3 separate regions of the Homo sapiens genome follow, and all the other regions are linked to region 1. Evidence: promoter capture Hi-C in 16 types of primary human blood cells and fetal thymus (Javierre and others, 2016). All regions are on one chromosome and are shown on one strand. The core of a region is centred on a gene start or on the middle of the fragment in contact, and the rest is flanking DNA. Distances in the headings are between cores, read along the strand shown.

Region 1 (4,753 bases), core at 1,390-3,889:
TACACTCTGCCCTGCAGGGTAGAGAAAAGACACATGAGGGGCCCAAGGAACTTAGAACCCACCTGGTTAGAAGAAACTAACAAGCAAGAGACAGGGTTAGAAATATAAATGTGACATAAGGGCAAGCCCCCAAATAAGAAAGAACACAAGAAGAGAAGAAGGGATAGATCAAATCCTAGTGGTCTGGAGAGATTAGATGTGGCTTCTCAAAGCCAACAAAGATAGCACCACCAACAATAATACACCAGCAATAATCGCTATTTATTTTTTCAACTTTTTTATTGAGAGAAAATTTACATAAAATTCACCATTGTAACCATTTATTTATTTATTATTTTTTGAGATGGAGTCTTGCTCTGTCGCCCAGACTGGAGTGTAGTGGCAGGATCTCGACTCACTGTAGCCTCCACCTCCTGGGTTCAAGTGATTCTCCCGCCTCAGCCTCCTGAGTAGCTGGGATTACAGGAGCGCATCACCACACCTGGCTAATTTTTGTATTTTTAGTAGTGACAGGGTTTCACCATGTTGGTTGGCCAGCTGGTCTCGAATTCCTGACCTCAGTTGGTCCATCCTCCTCGGCCTCCCAAAGTGCTGGGATTATAGGTGTGAGCCACCACGCCTGGCTTGTTTTGTATTTTATTTATGTATTTGCTTTTTTAGACGGAGTCTCACTCTGTCGCCCAGGCTGGAGTGCAGTGGCGCAATCTCGGCTCACTGCAACCTCCGCCTCCCGGGTTCAAGCAATTCTCTGCCTCAGCCTCCCGAGTAGCTGGGATTACAGGTGCCTGCCACCACACCCGGCTCATTTTTCTATTTTCAGTAGAGATGGGGTTTCACCATCTTGGCCAGGCTAGTCTTGAACTCCTGACCTGGGGATCCACCCGCCTTGGCCTCCCAAAGTGCTGGGATTACAGGCATCAGCCACTGTGCCCAGCCGTTTTGTATTTTTTTAGTAGAGACGGGGTTTCCCCCATGTTGGCCAGGCTGGTCTCGAACTCCTGGACTCAAGTGATCTGCCTGCCTCGGCCGCCCAACGTGCTGGGATTGCAGGTGTGAGCCACCGCGACCGGCCGCTTTCTCTTTCTTTCGAGACAAGGTCTTGCTTTGTCACCCAGGCTAGAGTGCAGTGGTGCTATCATAGCTCACTGAGCCTAGAACTCCTGGTCTCAAGATACCTCCGCCTTATTCTCCTGAATAGCTGGGTTTACAGGCATGTGCCACCGTGCCCGGCTTTTTTTTTTTTTTTTTTTTTTTTTTGAGTCTCTTGCTCTGTCGCCCAGGCTGCAGTGCAGGTGGTGCAATCTCGGCTCACTGCAAGCTCCGCCTCCAGGGTTCACGCCATTCTCCTGCCTCAGCCCCCGGAGTAGCTGGAACTATAGCGCCCGCCACTACGCCCGGCTAATTTTTTTTGTATTTTTAGTAGAGATGGGGTTTCACCGTGTTAGCCAGGATGGTCTCGATTTCCTGACCTCGTGATCTGCCCGCCTTGGCCTCCCAAAGTGCTGGGATTACAGGCGTGAGCCACCACGCCCGGAGTTTTTTTTTTTTTTTTTTTAAGAGGGAAGTGGGGTTTCTCTATGTTGCCCAGGCTGGTCTTGAATTTCTGGCCTCAAGCGATCCTCTTGCCTCGGCCTTCCAAAGTGCTGGGATTACAGGTGTGAGCCACCACACCTGGCCAATTCAGTCTTAAACCAATTTTCTGAGGCTTCGTTTTGGCAAGGCTACTTATCTGTTTTAAAAATAAACGATGTATTTTAGTAAAAGAAAAAAAATGGAGGAAAAAACAGGGTTTTGATCTCATGGAATAATTATGAGGCTAATCTAATGAGCTTCATAAAATACTATACCCATACATAGTATGCTTGTTATTTTATTGTTTTGTCAGGGTCCAGAGAACTAGGCCACTGTGTTGCTTAGGCACCGTGTCTGCACATAGTTCATTCCGGTGTACATTCATTCATCTTTACACTAGAATGTTAGTTTCAAGAACTCAGTCACCTCGTCTACACTGTCCTTTAATCCCCAATACCTGCGACAGTTCCTGGGGCAAAAACAAATGCTTGTTGAATTAAAAAGAAAAACTGGGCCGGGCGTGGTGGCTCACGCCTGTAATCCCAGCACTTCGGGAGGCCGAGGCAGGCGGATCACCTGAGGTCAGGAGTTCGAGACCAGCCTAACATGGTGAAACCCCGTCTCTACTAAAAATACAAAAACATTAGCCGGGTGTAGTGGTGGGTGCCTGTAATCCCAGCTACTTGGGAGGCTGAGGCAGGAGAATCGCTTGAAGCCGGGAGGCGGAGGTTGCAGTGAGCCGAGATCACGCCATTGCACCCCAACCTGGGTAACAGAGCGACACTCTGTCTCAAAAAAAAAAAAAAATTCCTGTAGAAGCTCCCAAGCCCAATTAAAGCTCAAGGCTATCGTCCACGTAGTGGGTTCCAAATCGCTAAGTTCCCAGGCCAGCAGGGAGAGCGAGCCGAGCGAAGGTCGCCTGTGTCAAAGGCGGGGATTTGCACAGTATTTACATGGAAGCGGAGGAAAGGCTGCTTAGCAACCGGGCTGAGGGGACGGGCTGCACTGCGCACGCGTACATGGGCGGGGCATCTTGCGCATGCGCAGGCGACAGCTCATGGCGTTCAGGGCCTGACGGTTGCTAGGGTGACAGGGACACAACATGGCGGCGGGATCTCTAACGCTCTCCTTCGAGGGACCACCACGGAGATCCTAGTGCGGGACCCCGCCTCAGGGAAGTGGAAAGCAGGGGGACAACCTTCCTGCTTCTTTCTTTTCCGTCCAGTGTCGGCAAGGGGTTGTCACCGGCTTCCGCATCCAAGATGAAGAGTGAGTGGGGCCGGGGAAAGGGGCAGGGACTGGAGAGCGAGTGGCGGGGGAGGGAGGGACTGGGGGAGCTTGAGGAGCTTGAGGGGCCTGTGGGGCCGGGCGTCGTCGCCTTCTGCCGTGGCTCGACAGGCCCGGGAGGCTCCGCATGTGGGCCCCGAATCCCCCTCGGCTGTGAGAAGCCGGTGCCCCTGGGGGAAGCTTGAGGGGTTGGGGCTAGGTTGGGAACTTTGGGGTCTCGGAGAGCCGACTCGAGTTCCCGCTCAGGCATATTTTGGTGCAGGTGCGTGGTTCTTACATTGGAGTTTAGGGAGTTGACTGTGATTCATTTTATTTTATTTTAAATGCTGGCTTGAACCTGACACTCTTTTCCTGAACATTCGGCAGAAAACGGGGGAGCGCTTACAGCGTGGCTCCCTGCCTTTTCATGATACTGGTTTAGTGACCAATTGAGAGGAAAGCTGGGCTGTGTGCTTTATTTTATTTTTTGGGTCAAGCAGTAGTGTTTTATAGGAACCACTTTTTAATAGTAGTTTTGAAGCAACCTTTTAGTTAAAAGCTGTTACTTCAAAGTTGGGAAATGAGGTAGTCATTCTAGAAAATGTAACGGGTAAAAAATTTTCTTTAGTGGGATTTGTGGATTATTGACAATCCAAGTGCAACCAGCTAGAATGATGTTTTTAAAATTATTATTACTGTACAGATATAATTGTTTATGGTTGTGAACCAGAGGTGCAGTAAAAATTCAGACCTTTGCTGTGAAAATATTATGTTAGGAGTAGTTATAATGTTAAATTTGCATTGTATCCTAATTGTCAATGGTGTACATTGCATAACATTTAAAATAATTAATCTCATTCACCCTTTACAAGGCATTTTTATTTTTATTTTATTTTGTTGGATATTGTTTAATGTTTACCTTTTTCATTAATGCACTACAAAGCTGTAGTTAGAATCCAAGGTCTACAAAAGACTTTACACTTTTACTTACAGTGCAGACTATGATACTGCACATATTTTGTACTATATTCATTTTTTTCTTCCCATCTGTTTGTTTTGAAAATTTTCAGATGTACAGGAAAGTTGCAAGAGCAGTACATTGAATATTTATAAACCCGTCCTTCACTTAGCTGCACCATTTTGCCTTATTTTTGTGTGCTCGCTTTCGCTCTGGTGTTTTCTCTCTCCCATTTATGTATTTATTTTCACTGGACCTTTCAAGAGTTAGTTGTAGACTACTAATAATTCACCACTTCTTTCAGCAGTTATCTGCCAAGAACAAGGACATTCTCCTACATCATCACAGTACAAATAACACATTTAGAAAATTTAACAATGATACAATACTCTGATACACAGTCCATATTTCAGTTTTTCCATTTATCCCAATAACATGTGTTATAGTTGTTTATATTTTTTCTATCCAATCAAGAATCACCAATTGTATTCTGTTGTCATATCTCTTTGGTCTCTTTTAATATGGTGTCCCTGCCTTTTGTGTCTTTCATGACAATGATATTTTCATTTTTATTTGGCTGTCCTCTGTAGGCCAAATGACATTTTTAAAGAATCCAGCCCAGTGTTTTGCAGAATATCGCTCAATTTGGATTTGTCTGATTTTCGCCTCATGATTAGCTTCAGCTTAAATGTTTTTACCAGGAATATGTGAGAGGCAACGTTGTGTCTCTGTCAGTGTGGCCCTTCCAGAGTGCCTGATGTCAGTTCGTTGCAGTTTTGCTGAAGTTAGATTTGATCATTTGGTTTATTTATCTACCTTCTTTTTCTCTTAGACTCTTTTTTTTTTTGGACAGGGTCTCTCTGTGTCACCCTGGCTGGAGTGCAGTGGTGCAATCTTGGCTCACTGCAACCTCTGCCTCCCGGGTTCAAGTGATTCTCCTACCTCAGCCTCCCAAGT
Region 2 (4,753 bases), core at 1,075-3,574, 470 kb after region 1:
AGAGGCAGAAGGGCAGGGGAGAAGGCTGGCAGGTCGGGAGTAGAGGAAGAAGGGCAGGGGAGAAGGCTGGCAGCTCCGTCCATGCTTTGGGGGCCGCGGGGTTCTCCATGGGTTTGCTCTCCCTGCTGCTCCGTAGGCGGCCACAGCTGAAGGTCAGGGACTTCCAACCTCAGCTCAGCTGAAACCCTGCCCAGCTTCACAGCCTCAACTGCAAAAAAAAAAACCTTTCAGCTGCTAGGAAATCTCAGTTTCTTATTTATTGTTGCTTGTGGATTGAGGAATTTCCTTAAGTAATTAAAAAAATTTAATTTCCCATTGTATTTTATCTTACTAGTGTTTCCTACTATTTTCACTTTTAATTCTTTTAAGGAATACTAATAGTTCATCATTATTGGGTATTTTCTACATGCTGGTAATATATTACTGTAACTTTTCCCAGCCCACTAATCCTAGTAAGAACACACAGAGGGGCTACCATCATCCCCATTAGATAGACAAGGACAGAGGTCTACAGAGAGGTTAAGGCGACGCTCAGATGGGACCGTGCTGATGCCTGAGCCCAGGCAGGGCAGCTCGGAGCACCTGGTGATCTGCAAGGGCAAGAGGCACCCCGTGAGGGGACGGCTGTGCAGGCGGCGTGGTCCCACACATGCTACTGGTCCCTTACAGGGAGAAGAGTGGTCTCACCGTTCCTGCTCAAGATGAAGACTGTGTCTGTCCCCCGGGAGACCTCAGATGCCTTAACAAGAATATTACTTCTAAGACCTTTAAATTCCTCAATGGAAAAAGCCCGTGAATTGAAATCAATGGTTCCTAATACAAATTTGACATGGGCCAGGTTTCCCATTAGCCAGTATTACAGATGACAAGTGGGAAGGAGCCCTCTGAACAAACGTCTGGGACACTACCTTAACTGCAAGTCTGACTTGATAACATGATCACCAACCAAATACCTGAATCATCAACATTCCCCTCTACTGAGTTCTCTTGAGCACTCAGCTGACTGTAAACTGTGATCCCAGGTGGAAGTCACTGTGGAGTTTAGGCCACGTCAGTTCCTCGGTGTAATGCACCTCCCAGCTCTGTGCCAACACCCTGCCCTGGGCTTCCCTTATCCCAATTCATCCTGCTCCCCCAGCCACAGGACAGCACCACATCTTTGCTTCCTTGGATGGCCCCAGCTGAGCAGCCCATGCTCCCACCGCCATGAGGAGCAGCCCAGTGTCCAGCCTACCAATTCTGGGGTTGCTGGACAGTCGGCTGTGCTGGAATCAGAGACTCCCAGTCCCTGAAGACACAGGCTGCATTTTTTTTTTCCTTACTGTGAATGTGCTTTGAATACACTCCTAAAAAGTAAACAAAACAAAACAAAACACTTCTCCAAGCCACTGGCAAGTAGGCTTGACCCTGCCAAGTAGGTGGAGCAAAGCTAAAGTCTGGCCAGACCTTCTAACCTTCTTCTGAGGCTCTGTGGCCACAGGCCCACCAGCGAGCTGGATATAATCAAGTACCAAGTCAATCTCTGAGATTTGAGGACTTTTTCTCACAGCTTTTTGGCAAAGTCATCTTGGGAGAGGAAAGAGTAGAGGTAGTCAATTAGAGTTGATTTCTGATTTTCCCAGCATGTAATAAAGATCCCCTCCTCTCATCCCCATCCAGACTCCTGATAACCAAATTAATATCTTAATAAATCCTCAGTATGAATGTCCCCAAGCGACTTGACAGGCCTGGGGCTTTAAGCATGCATTCTATGACCTCATAATTTAAAGAGATTTGGAGGCCAGGGCTGGCAACGCACCAGTGAAGTTTCACCCACCAGACACTGAATCTGGGAGGAGAATTTCTCCTTGAGCCATTTCTGCTGGAACAGCTGCCTGATCACAAGAGGAAAATGCCTCCTTAGATTAACTTGCTGGTGGCCTTGTGAGATACCTCAGCAGCCGTACTGAGACGCCACATCAAGGGACCATCTTTAGTTCCATTTTTTGAGAAGACTTTTTGTTTGGCTTGAAGAGGGTCCCCCTGAAGCTGACCCTCAGTGCTGCCGTCACTGCTGCAACCTCAGCACCTCCATGGCCTGCATGTGCAGACAGGAGAACCGGACCCAGTCAAGGTCCCACCAGTTCTGCAGACAAGGGTCTGGAGTCCAAGTAACCACACAGCACACCCTGCTCAAATTCTCAGGGTGACTCTTCACATGGGATATAATCTGTCTTGAATGGATCACATTTGCCACCCAGAGGAAGAGACAATGTCAAAACTGATTCAGGCCGGGTGTGGTGGCTGACGCTTGTAATCCCAGCACTTTGGGAGGCTGAGGCAGGTGGATCACTTGAGGTCAGGAGTTTTGAGACCAGCCTGGCCAACACGGTGAAACCCCATCTCTACAAAAATACAAAAATTAGCCGAGCGTGGTGGCAGGTGGCGGGTGCCTGTAATCCCAGCTACATGGGAGGCTGTGGCAGGAGAATCACTTGAACCCTGGAGGCAGAGGTTGCAGTGAGCTGAGATCGCGCCACTGCACTCCAGCCTGGGTGACAGAGCGAGACTCCGTCTTAAAAACAAAAAATGCCAAAAAAACCCTTGGATTGAATAAAGCTGGGAAGTGAAAACCCCTAGTCATGTTAGGGAATTTCACATGGCCTGTTACCATAATGCCTTGAGAAAACAGTTTTGGAACAGTGAACTGACTCAGCAATTCATCTGGCTGGGGGTGGTGGAAGTCAAGTTTAGGTCCATGTGCTGCTCCCTCATACTGTGTCCTCTCAATGAAATGCATCCTTTACAAAATCGCAAGGGGGTGTGTCTTTGGGGCCAGACAATGAGAGCAAAAAATGAAGGGAAAATTAAGAACAATGGTTTACCCAAGGTGGTGGTTTCTGAAGAATGATCAAACCATATAATTAAACCAATCATTTTAGGTAACTGTGTGATCCTCTAACAACTTCTGCCAAACTTGGAGAGTCTAGGAATCTTTGGTAACCCTATCTTCTTCAAACATTTGACCAATCAGAGCTGGCCAAGACATATCAGGCAAGACTCCTCATTACCAGAACGGCTGGGAAGCTCCACCTCGAATTAAAACCCTGACACCGGCCATGTGAACAGCAGCACCAGTGACCTCTGGCCACGGCTGGCCGAGGGGCGGACCTAGGCGCCCATGTTTTTCCTGGACCACACTCCAGGGCGGCTTGGCGTGAGAGTAAACAACTTGATCAAGGACAAAGTTTTGACCAAGTCAAAGTTTTCCTCCTGAAAACTGAAGCTACTGACGACTTCTCACTAGACGGAACATGGGAAGAATCAGGCAGATCTAATCACTGCCAGTGTGGACATGACTGATTCCAGCACGTTTCAGATGCTGTGCCTAGTGTTCACACTGCAACCTCCCTGACTATCCACAACTGTCCTGTGAGAGAGAAACTGTTATCACTCCCATTTTCCAAATGAAGAACAGCCACTCAACAGTTCAATACTTGCTGGAGGTCCCACAACTGCTAACTGTATTATGTTACTGAGTAAATGCAGAAGAGCATGCAGAGAAATTACACGGTAAAGCGCGGGGAAGAAGGGGCATGACACGCAAAGACTGGGAGTGGCGGGGTGGATGAGGACACAGAGGGGTCACTCACGCTGCTGGAGTCTGGACCCTTCTGCCTCCACAGTCCCGCTCCACCCTGCTCCTCTGTGTGGAGTCCCTCTGTGACTGTGCCTTAAAAACACTTGTCTTCATCTATGCAAGCCCAAGTGTGTCTCCACTGCTTGTAACCCAAGAAAGAGATGGGAAGGTGTCTTCGGAACAGATTCCCCAGGTGGAACCCAGAGTCGCCCACCCTGGGGTTTCCCGTACTTCAGTCCTGCATGAACACCTTCAAGATCGTCACAAATCTGTGTACAGTCAGGCTCTTATTTACTTGGTATTTTGCTTTAAATGGATACACTTTTTACTAAGCCCTGTCCTAAGCAATAATAACCCAAGAAACCATGGATTTGATGTGCTAATTATATATTTTCACATTCATCAATATATAATTATTAAAGTAAAATAATACTCAACTCTGAATCACTTAAAATAACTGCCGTTAGCAGTGGTGTGCACTTGCCACACTTGGAGGAATCCTGGGCTATCTATCCCACAGTACGAAGAAAGAAGATAACAAGAAATCCTCTATTTGGCCTACACTGTAGATTTCTATGTTGACTATTATTGCTGAACAAATCTCCAATGATTACCTGAATGAGGAGCAAGAAAATCACTTTACCTCTGTTGTTCTGTTCTGCTCCTTTTCATTATGAGGACATACAGACCACTTGCTCTCAGCCTTTGCTGATCCCCTGCTAGTCTTTGGTTCTACAAATGCAATACTATTTAGAAGCTCAGGGTTAGAATCTTTCCATGGTTCCAAGGCTATCCATGGGTTCTTTTTTAAGTTTTGCCTTCAAAGCTGTATCATAATATTGCTGCTTAAATAACAATGTCTTTGGACAAGTTAAACTCAACTTTAAAGCCAATGTAAGTAACAGACTACAGTGGTCCATGTTGGGGATTGCTTCTAGGACCACCACGCTTACCCAAATCCACGCATATTCAAGTCCCACAGTCGGCCCGCAGAACCCGTGCGTATGAAAAGTTGGCCCTCTGTATACATAGGTCTCGAATCTTGTGCATTTGCAATCTGCATTTGGTTGAAAAAAATCCACATATAAGTGGACCTGTGCAGTTCAAACTTGTGACGTTCAAGGGTCAACTGTA
Region 3 (4,753 bases), core at 1,748-4,247, 310 kb after region 1:
TGCATCCGGATGGCCCCGGACAGGATACAAAGCAAGGTGGAGCTGGGCTTCACCCTTTATTCCAAGTTATTAAAAGGATACTTGGCCGGGCATGGTGGCTCATGCCTGTAATCCCAGCACTTTGGGAGGTCAAGGCGGGCAGATCACTTGAGGCCAGGAGTTCGAGACCACCCTGGCCAACAAGGAGAAACCCCGTCTCTGCTAAAAATACAAAAATTAGCCGGGCATGGTGGTGGGCGCCTGTAATTCCAGCTACTCGGGAGGCTGAGGCAGGAGAATCGCTTGAACCTAGGAGGCAGAGGCTGCAGTGAGCCGAGATCACACCACTGTACCCCAACCTGGGTGACAGAGCGAGACTCCATCTCAAAAAAAAAAAAGAAAAGAAAAGAAAAGAAAAACCTAGATGCCCAGTATCTGCACTGAGTTTTTCATTATTTATTTAGTTTTTTGAGATAGAGTCTTGCTCTGTCACCCAGGCTGGAGTGCAGTGGCACAATCTCAGCTCACTGCAACCTCCGCCTCCCAGCTTCAAGCGATTCTCCTGCCTCAGCCTCCCGAGTAGCTGGGACTACAGGCACATGCCACCACACTCAGGTAATTTTTTGTATATTTTTTGTAGAGATGGGGTTTCACTATGTTGGCCAGGCTGGTCTCAAACTCCTGACTTCAGGTGATCTGCCCACCTTGGCCTCCCAAAGTTCTGGGATTACAGGCATGAGCCACCGTGCCTGGCCTACACTAAGTTTTAACAAGCACATCAGGCTGTTGTAACAGAGATGATCTGTGGGCCATACTAAGAAAAGAGTGCCTTAAGGGTTGAGTCAGGTCATTCTCTTAGAATGCAAAATACTATAGAAGCCAAATTAAACTAGAGATCTAGTGTAATTTTTTTTTTTTTTTTTGAGACGGAGTCTCACTCTGTTGCCCAGGCTGGAATGCAGTGGCACAATTTCGGCTCACTGCAAGCTCTGCCTCCCGGGTTCATGCCATTCTCCTGCCTCAGCCTCCTGAGTAGCTGGGACCACAGGTACCCGCCACCACACCCGGCTAATTTTTTGTATTTTTAGTAGAGACAGCATTTCACCGTGTTAGCCAGGATGGTCTCGATCTCCTGACCTCGTGATCCGCCCGCCTCGGCCTCCCAAAGTGCTGGGATTACAGGCGTGAGCCACCACGCCCAGCCAAAAATTTTTAAATATGCACAGAGCTCACCTCAACTTGCTTCTCAAACTGCTTGATCTTCCGTTTCAAAGACTGCACATAGGTGATGAAGGTCACTGCATCGGAGGTGCTGGCCGTGTCTACTGAGTGCTGCTCCAACTCTTGGCGGGACTGTTCAGAGAGAGGGGAGTATTTCATCACAGAGCTGGGGTTCACCAGTAGACCGGTTACAGAGGCAGAATCCTATGTCCTCACCTTTGAGATCTGGGAATGGAATTCCGTCATGTTTGATCCTAGCATCTGCCCAAATTTGCTAAGAACCTCCTTATGCCAAGAGTCATATTTCAAGTTCACCTTAGATTGTACCTGAGGGTGAAATAGCACACAACACATCATCAGCTCTTTCCTGCTGGCGTGTTTATCCTTCAAATGAATATCAGTCTAACAGAAATGTTGCTTTTACACTACCCGTGACACCTTTCAACCAGACAGCAGGGCTCACCTTGCCATAATCTATAACTACTGGTCCAAACTCTTTCTTGGTTTCTGCATTGTCAAAGGTTCCTCTGGCCTTCCTTATTTGGACCAGGAGAGCCTGCCATTTGTTGAGATCTTCTCCAAGTCTGTTATAGATGTTTTCAGCTTGCATATCCCATAAACACTGATACTGAAGCCAAACCTGCAAATGAAGAACACAGTTAAATAATAGTTTGAGTTTTCATTTTGTAGAATACTGGCACCTCTTATGTTCACATTCCATTAAGAAGGTTCATGTCTTTCACCACTATTAGAGAAATTCTCACTTCAGACTCTCAGAATTTTCATATCAAAAAAGATTCTTGAACGTCATGGTTAAAACTCAAAAAGATGTATCCTATCATTTACTCTCTGCTTTGAAACAGCAAATAGTATCTAGTGAACCATACATACAGTCAAGACCTTTTAGCTCCATGTTCTTTATATCTTGTACTCTTAAGTGTCTAGAATAGACCATATGCACATTTGAATGAAATTAGGAGTTTCTTACCTTGACATACTGTTCAACTTCAGATACAATGCCCATGACAGCAGAATACGACTCTTCCAGGGCAACAGGGCCATCAGGCATCCGTGTTAAAGCATTCCGATAGAATTTCTCTTCCTCAGTCAATTCGTAATGTACACCCACCTAGCCAACCAAAGCCGAAATGAATGCAAGCAGTGTATATGAAAATGGTAATCTAAGTGTCACCTTTTACTTAATTAAAATGAACTGAAAGAAAAGCTCATGACCAAAATGGCATTTAAGGGATAACATCCACTTACCCTGGCCACAAGTAACCAGAAAGCCTACTTATATTTAACTCATCAAACCAATACAAGAACATTAATGACAACAGAGAAATTTGGCAATGCAAAAACAGCTGAAAAGTGCACGAAGCCATTTGCTCATTTTAACTATCTGAGTGCCTGTTATGTGCCAGGCACTGTTCTAGGTACAACAAGCAGATAAAAATCCCTGCTCACAGGGACTTACACTCTATGGGAGGAGAGACGCGATTAGGGAATAAGCAAAACACACAGAATGTCAGGTGGTGAGAGAGAACTACGGAGCAAGAGTGAGAAGGAGAGGGAGTGTGGGCACAGCATGGGGAAGGCTGCATTTTCAGTAATGACGTCAGGAAAGGCCTTGCTGAGAAGGGGAGAATTGCGAGAAACCAGGAGGAGAGGGGTAAGTTGTGATTATTTGCCATCAAGGATTCTGAGTTGAGATCAACAAATGTGAAGGCGCAGGGGCAAGAGTCTACCGGCATGTTTGAGGACCAGCAAGACTCCAGTGTGATGGGGCAGAGCCAGTGAAGGGAGAAGCAGCAGGAGCTGAAGTCAGAGAAATAATAAGCAACACATTACACGGGCCCAGCAAGCCACTGGGGCTTTGACTTTCATGATGAGTGAGATAGGAAGTCATTCAAGGGCTCCGAAAAGAGTGTCAGGATTGACTTAGAATCTAAAACTTGCTTTGGCTGCTGTGTTGAAAACAGATTTTAGGGAGGCAAAGGCAGAGAGAACAGATAGGAGGGAATATTAATAATCCAAGTGAGAGGTGATGGTACCTTGTACGGAGTGGTGCCAGTGAAACAGCTCAGCATTCATTTTCAAGAGACACACAATGGGAATCAAGGACAATACCATGATTTTTGGCCTGAATGAGCTGAAGGATGAGAAGTGAAAGACTGAGGGAAGATCAAACTTGGGGAGGCAGGGCTCAAGAGGTGCTCAGTGTGACGCGACTCCGAGATAGCCAAGTGGAGATGCCATGCTAGTAGCTGCCCAGACAAGCCTGGAGTAGGGAGAAAGGTCAGCTGGAGATACGAACACAGAGCTGTCAGCCTGCAGGTGGCATTTAAAGTCAACAAGACTAGATGAGACCACAATGAGAGTGCACAGGAGTGGAGAGGGAACAGAACATTTAGAGGGAGTTTAAGGGGAAGGCAAAAGAGGAACCGAGAAAGGAGACCAGCCACTGAGGTGGGAGGAGAACCAGGAGGCACGGTGTTCTGAAGAGTCCAGAGCATCACGCAGGAGGGAGCCTCCATCAAGTCTTGCAGTTAAGAGGTGAGACAAGGACAGAGAAGCCCCCTAGTCAGCAGGGTGGGGCTATGGGCGATCACACAGAGCAGTGCTGGAGGAGGCTGGATGAGTGCCTGAGAAGGGAGCTTCCTTATGAAGATTGCAGGGGACATGGGGTCCCGTTTAGGTGCTGAAAGAAGACCCAGAAGAGAGGGCAGAACAGCTAAACGAGAGTGAGGGGATGGGCTCTAGGGAAAAAGGAGACTGCTGGCTTTAGTTTGTTAAATTTGGAGATAAGCAAGAGAACAATGCAAATAGAAACACGGCTGGTTAAAAACAGGAGTAACATGATGAGAATGATGCTAAGGATTGTACGTAGACTCCTTGAAGGGCAGAAGCCAATATCCATAGCTTGGTTCTGATTAGCTGGACAGTGCCCAGCATTAGGTGAAACATCACCACGATTTTAGCCATAGGCAATTAACTACCTCAAAAAAAATCCTTAAAGATCTGAGTTTATATTCAAAGTTAAGAAAACGGTTAATGTCTTATCACTAAATTCTGGAAGAGTCTGCAATAGCAGAAGTTGTGCCATCTTTTTTTATGAAGCCACTGGTTCTGTTCAGAAGTGACACTGGGGACTAAATGGTCTTTTGAGATTTCCTTTTGTTCTAAAAATATACTAAGAGTATATTATATCTGAGATTTGCTTCAAGATAATCTGGTGGGGGTGGAGAGGTAGGAAAGAAAATATAAATAACATTGTCCACATATTGATAAAGCTGTGTGGTGGGGGGCTCTTGATTCCCTCAACTTTTGTGTATGTTTTAAAATTCCCCTAATAAAAAGTGGGGGGTGGGGAGGAGAGGGAGAAGCAGGAATTGAGATTCCCAAAGATGCTCATGGACAGGAGTTCGAAGAAACTACTGAGACCAAGCTACAAATGCCAAGTAACTAGTTGGAAAAAAAGGTCAGGGCACAAAAAGCCTCCCTAACTTTCCCCTGGGATGTCTGGAGTTTGTAAACAACATCAAGAGCTTAT

Evidence for each region. The method cuts DNA at HindIII sites, captures the fragments that hold promoters and counts their contacts. A CHiCAGO score of 5 or more calls a contact.
Region 2: a fragment that was not itself captured here is called in contact with the fragment with the promoter of MOK in region 1 in 1 of 17 cell types (naive B cells); the score reaches 5.9 in naive B cells.
Region 3: a fragment that was not itself captured here is called in contact with the fragment with the promoter of MOK in region 1 in 1 of 17 cell types (naive B cells); the score reaches 5.5 in naive B cells.

The regions. Positions count from the first base shown.
Region 1 is chr14:102,303,050-102,307,802 of GRCh38, reverse strand. It overlaps MOK (MOK protein kinase), which reads left to right and starts at 2,639. Exons shown (of 12, transcript NM_014226.3): 1 at 2,639-2,841. The coding sequence starts at 2,835. RefSeq lists enhancers at 2,420-2,469, 2,236-2,758. The HindIII fragment of the contact is 4,511 bases long and covers 1-3,041 here.
Region 2 is chr14:101,831,624-101,836,376 of GRCh38, reverse strand. The region is part of intron 3 of PPP2R5C (protein phosphatase 2 regulatory subunit B'gamma); the gene reads right to left. Among named protein-coding and RNA genes, the nearest start is that of PPP2R5C, 72 kb to the right of the region's middle. RefSeq lists an enhancer at 3,162-3,662. The HindIII fragment of the contact is 5,116 bases long and covers 1-4,753 here.
Region 3 is chr14:101,991,760-101,996,512 of GRCh38, reverse strand. DYNC1H1 (dynein cytoplasmic 1 heavy chain 1) reads right to left here. Exons shown (of 78, transcript NM_001376.5): 12 at 2,189-2,329; 13 at 1,664-1,840; 14 at 1,417-1,527; 15 at 1,213-1,332. Among named protein-coding and RNA genes, the nearest start is that of DYNC1H1, 30 kb to the right of the region's middle. RefSeq lists an enhancer at 3,390-3,529. The HindIII fragment of the contact is 8,132 bases long and covers 1-4,753 here.